2 separate regions of the Homo sapiens genome follow, and region 1 is linked to region 2. Evidence: promoter capture Hi-C in human tissues and cell types (Jung and others, 2019). All regions are on one chromosome and are shown on one strand. The core of a region is centred on a gene start or on the middle of the fragment in contact, and the rest is flanking DNA. Distances in the headings are between cores, read along the strand shown. Region 1 overlaps CLIP1 (CAP-Gly domain containing linker protein 1). Region 2 holds the start of DENR (density regulated re-initiation and release factor).

Evidence for each region. The method cuts DNA at HindIII sites, captures the fragments that hold promoters and counts their contacts. A contact is called where the count stands out against the background at its distance.
Region 1: a contact is called between a fragment that was not itself captured here and the fragment with the promoter of DENR in region 2, in 1 of the 25 tissues and cell types used here (psoas muscle).

The regions. Positions count from the first base shown.
Region 1 is chr12:122,338,815-122,341,514 of GRCh38, forward strand. It overlaps CLIP1 (CAP-Gly domain containing linker protein 1), which reads right to left. Exons shown (of 26, transcript NM_001247997.2): 11 at 1,939-2,700. Among named protein-coding and RNA genes, the nearest start is that of CLIP1-AS1, 55 kb to the right of the region's middle. The HindIII fragment of the contact is 3,429 bases long and covers 1-2,700 here.
Region 2 is chr12:122,751,553-122,754,280 of GRCh38, forward strand. DENR (density regulated re-initiation and release factor) reads left to right here and starts at 1,272. Exons shown (of 8, transcript NM_003677.5): 1 at 1,272-1,398; 2 at 2,141-2,255. The coding sequence starts at 2,150. RefSeq lists enhancers at 1-629, 1,721-1,780 and a silencer at 1,531-1,580. The HindIII fragment of the contact is 19,306 bases long and covers 1-2,728 here.

The DNA of each region.
Region 1 (2,700 bases), core at 41-2,540, 410 kb before region 2:
CTAAATATTATCTTCTAATTAATTTTTGTGTTTTGATTAGTATTTCGGAACCACATGAGGAGATTTGAGAAAAATTTCCTGTAACCAGTTTGTCATCTTCGACTATGGTTAGTTAGCAATTTTTTGCTGTTTGTCAGTCCTCACCTCACCCCATTTAACCATCACAACCCTTCCTTCTTTGCCAATAGAGCAGCTTCTCCCACAAAAAAGTTCAGAACATTGAGCATCAATACCAGTGCCTCAACTAGTGGCAGGACTGGGAAACAATTCCTCGAACCACCTTTAAAGATAAAGATGACATTTAACAAGGCTAGTTAGTAAGGAATGCAGCTGGCGAATGTTTCACGTAATTTCCTAAGCCTTGACCACATGCACACTTGTTCAGTATTTCCCCCAGAAAAGGAGGGGACAGATCATGTTCTCATTATGCCACAGAAAAAAACTCCAATGAGATTTCTGCCATGCAAAGGGCTCCAAGCTCTTACCCTTAATTTTGCTGTGAATGTTATTTATCACAGCATGGGTTTTTTTTTGTTTTTTGGAGATGGAGTCTTGCTCTGTCGCCCAGGATGGGGTACAGTGGCACGATCTCAGCTCACTGCCACCTCCACCTCCCGGGTTCAAGCAATTCTTGTGCCTCAGCCTCCTGAGTAGCTGGGACTACAGACGCACACCACCACACCTGGCTAATTTTTGTATTTTTAGTAGACAGGGGCCAGGCTGGACTCAAACTCCTGACCTCAACTGATCCGCCTGCCTCAGCCTCCCAAAGCACTGGGATTACAGGCATGAGCCACCTTGCCCGGCCAACATGTTAATTTATAATAGTCAAGAAGCACTGAATTCAGTCTGTTTTTATACATAACCCTATAGATAAGCAATTACAGTCATGCATTGCTTAAGAACCAGGATATCTTATGAGAAATGCATCATTAGGCATTTCATTGTTGTGGGGACATCACAGGGTGCACTTACACACACCTAGAAGGTATAGTCTACTACACACCTGGGCTACGTGGCACAGCCTATTGTTCCTATACTATAAACCTGTATAAAATGTTACTGTACTGAATGTTGTAGGCAACTGTAACACAATGCTAAGTATTTGTGTATCAAAGCATATTTAAACATACAAAAGGTAAAGATACCATATTACAATCTTATGGAACCGCCTTTGTTTATGTGGTCCATTGTTGATTGAAACATCATTATGTGGCACCTGACTATATGTGGTTAGAAGAGGAGGAGATGATCTTTTAAGCTTTTTTTTTTTTTTTCCTTTAGACAGAGTCTTGCTCTGTCTCCCAGGCTGGAGTGCAGTGGAATAATCTCAGGTCACTGCAACCTCCGCCTCCCGGGTTGTTCAAGTGATTCTCCTGCCTCAGCCTCCTGGGTAGCTGGGATTACAGGTGTCCGCCACCATGCCAGGCTAATTTTGTATTTTTAGTAGAGATGGGGTTTCACTATGTTGGCCAGGCTGATCTCGAACTCCTGACCTCAGGTGATCACCTGCCTCAGCCTCCCAAAGTGCTGGGATTACAGGCGTGAGCCACTGCGCCTGGCCGATCTTTTGAGTTTCTGTTCATTCATTCATCTTAACACCATAGTGTTAGGGCATTCTTTATTTTAAACAGATTATAGACTGGAGCTAAGCTTAAATTAGAAGTCACAGCATAGCCCAGAGATAAATAGATCAGGTACCCAGATAACAGGCAACCAAAATAAATTCACATGGTTGAGCCATTATTTTCTCTAATCTCCTCAGATGAAACCATACTTGAGATACTCAGAACATACTACACTATACTCAACTGGGGACATCAAGCAATTTAATTAAATCAGCAATTTGGAAGATGAATGATCTCAACTCAAAAGTAACATAATGCAAAACAAGAATAACAAATGGAAAAGAAAAGAATGGAGGATGTCAATACAAACCTTGCTACTTTCAGCATTCTTTTCAATCTCTAAATGTTTAATCTGTTTCTCAGCTGCCTCAAGCTGCTGTCTAAGTTTCTTCATTTCCGATTTACCTTCGGAACTGGCTTTCCGAAGTGCATCAAGATCCAAGAGCTTTTCTTCAGTAGCCTTGAGCTGTGATGTAAAATTATCAATAACCTTGGTTTGTTCATTGCATTTGGCTTGCAGTACCTCTAGCTCCTTTACCTTTATTTCAGCTTCCTGTAATTTGTTTAACGTGTCTTCCATTTCTACGAGATGCTGGTCTTCTGCTTTGTCCAGTTTCGACCTGATGGCTTCCAGACTGTTTTCCTTTTCTTTAATAACTTTCATCAGTTTAGCCCTCAAGGCTTCCATCTCTTTAGCATGGGCAGCCCGTTCAGAGTCTTGTTGATTCTGCAAATTTTCTATTTCGTGTTGGTAATCTAGTCTCATTTTCTCTATTTGTGTTTTTAGTTCAGCAAATTCTGCCGTCTCTGTTCCAAGCCCTTTGCTGAAAGATACCTTCAGTTCTTCCATCGCCTGCTGGTGGGATGCGATGGCAGTCTCCAGTTTGGACTTCCATAGAGCTATCACATCTGAGTTCTCTTTGTTGGCATGCTCCAGCTTGCTTTTCAATGACTCGTTCTCTTTGGAAAGCTTTTCCGTGGCGGTATACAGAGCCTTTATCTCCTTCTGATGAGTTTCTTCCCGGGCTCCAAAATGCTCCTTCAGAGAAGTTATTTCTCTCTGGTGGTCAGT
Region 2 (2,728 bases), core at 22-2,521:
GTCTCTGGGTACTTGAGATTAGGGAGTGGTGATGATTCTTAAGGCGCATGCTGCCTTCAAGCATTTGTTTAACAAAGCACATCCTGCACAGCCCTTAATCCATTTAACCCTCAGTTGACACAGCACAGGTCTCAGGAAGCACAGGGTTGGTGGTAGGGTTACAGATTAACAGCATCTCAAGGCAGAAGAATTTTTCTTAGCACAGAACAAAATGGAGTCTCTTATGTCTACTTCTTTCTACACAGACACAGTAACAATCTGATCTTTCTTTTCCCCATATATTCCCATACTCTTACATTTTTCTTTTTTTCATTAAAAAAAATTGTAGGCCGGGCGCGGTGGCTCACGCCTGTAATCCCAGCACTTTGGGAGGCGGAGGCGGGAGGATCCCTTGAGTCCGGGAGTTCGAGACCAGCCTGGACAGCATAGGGAGATTCCCCCACCTCTATAAACAAATTAAAAATTAGCTGGGTGTGGTAACGCGCGCCTGTATTCCCAACTACTTGGGAGGTCGAGGCTGCAGTGAACCGTGTTTGTGCAACTGCACTCCATCCAGCCTAGGTGACAGAGTGAGACCCTGTCAAAACATAAAGAAAAGGATGAAGGAAGGGAGGGAGGAAGGAAGGAAGGGAGGGAGGAAGGAAGGAAAGAAGGAAGGAAGGGAGGGAGGGAGGGAAGGGGAAGAAAGAGACAGAAAGAAGAGAAAGAAGAAAGAAAAGAAAGAACAGAAAAGAAAGAAAAAAGAATTCCTTTAATTTAGTGTATGGTGTTAAAACGCAACCAAACGCTCCATCCGGCGAAGAGAGAGAGAAAAGAAGAGAGGAAGGAAAGAAGGAAGGGAGGGAGGGAGGGAGGGAGAACACCTTCCTTTAATTCAGTGCATGGTGTTAAAATGCGACCAAACGCTCTATCCGGCTGCAATCTCCCCGCACGGGAGTGATTTATGCAGTAGCTGGAGGTTAGTCAGGACTCCAGGATGCACCGCAGACACCGAGGCGATGATCCTCGGACTCATTAATAGGGAGTCATTTGTGACTCAGGTGCGCTCTCTGCGTCTGCAAGTCACGTTCCCTTCGGCACGCCCATCTCGAGGATTCATCCTCTCCAACGGGTGACGAGCACCGCCTGCCGGCGGCCCGCCTCTCGGCCTCTTGGCCACGCCCCCCACCGGAGGGCAAGGCGCACGCTCCGCAATTTTTCTCCGCCCCCGTCTTCCGGCTTCTCGCGACATCCGCCCAGCGGCGGCCGGAATCTCGCGATAAAGGCTCATTGTCTCGCGGGAGCGCTGCTGGCGGTCGGGCGCTCGGGCGGCCCTGGCCGGGGAGACGAGTTGCATGTGTTGGTTCAGCTGGCGATAGCGGCGGGAGCGGAGCCGGCGGGGCCTGTGCGACCGCCTGGGTAACGACCCCAAGTGCTTCTCCCGCTCCCGAGAAGCTCGTAGAGAGTGTGGGGGAAGCTGAGATGCTGCCTGGCGGAAGGGGGCCGGGCCGGGCCTCTCCACACCCCCGCCCACAAGGGCCCCTTCTGGCGTCCCCGGGGTTGCTCCTTCGCCTCAGACCTGGTCGCCCTTGTCCCCTCAGTGCTCTTACATTCTGCGCTCGTTTTCTCTCCTCATCCTTCTTACGCTCTGGTTACCCCGCCCCCTCCCATGCCCTTTTTAGACTCCCCAGGCCCCTCTCATGGCGTTTAGTTGCCCCCACACCCTGCACCCCGGGCTTCTCCGATGACCCACCCCTTGTTCCTAGGCACTTCCAGCCTCTCTCCATTCGGCGCCTTTGTAGCCCTTCTCTCACTGCAGTTTGCATCCCTCCCAGATCACCCTCAGACCTTTTTGCTCCGTGTCTGCCGTGGGTACTCACCCCATCTTTCCTTCCCCATTGCTTCCTGTTTTTCTCTAGTGAGTCCCTCTGCCCCATCCTTCATGGTCCATTTGCTGCTTGCTTCCCTGTAGACCTGTGGAGCAAGGAGATGTTGTGCCTGGGATTGCTCATATTTTATGAATCGAATGCAGCTTGTATCCCCCACTCAACAACAGACTTGAAACAGCTTTGGGGTGGGGAGGTTTCTGTTGAGAGGAACACTGCTCTTCTGGGGTCTTGATTCTAAAATAGTGAGGGTGTGTTATTTTCCTTGCTTACAGGTTTGTGAAATGGCTGCTGACATTTCTGAATCCAGCGGGGCTGACTGCAAAGGAGACCCAAGGAACAGTGCCAAGTTAGATGCCGATTACCCACTTCGAGTCCTTTATTGTGGAGGCAAGTGTTGGTAGCCACAGAATGACTTTTACTCACTATACTTTTATGCATTGTAATAACAGTTTGACATTTGGTAAGCTTTCTTCCCCATCCTTTTCATTTGGTGAGTTTGTACTGGGGGAGAGGAGTCCTGGGGAGGAGGAGGCATGAATTAACAGAGTTTCCCCACCTGGGTGATTTGTGTCTGGCTACTCTGCCTGAAGAAGCTTACAGTCCATTTGTAACAGGATGTGCAACTAGGTTATTTCAGCCTGAAGGTCCTCAAGGTGTATGCTAGTCTAGCTGTCAAAGGAGGGCTTCTTGGAAGATTATGAGTTAAGGATGGCAAGGACTGGATGAGAAGGTGGGGAACGGCGTCCCAGACAAAGCGCACGACTATGTAAGAAAAAGCTTGATGGCTGTCTGTGAAGAAGTGAGCAGCTTTGAGTTTGTCTGGTGTATCGTATAGGGAGGGTGGCCCGTTAAGGAGTGGG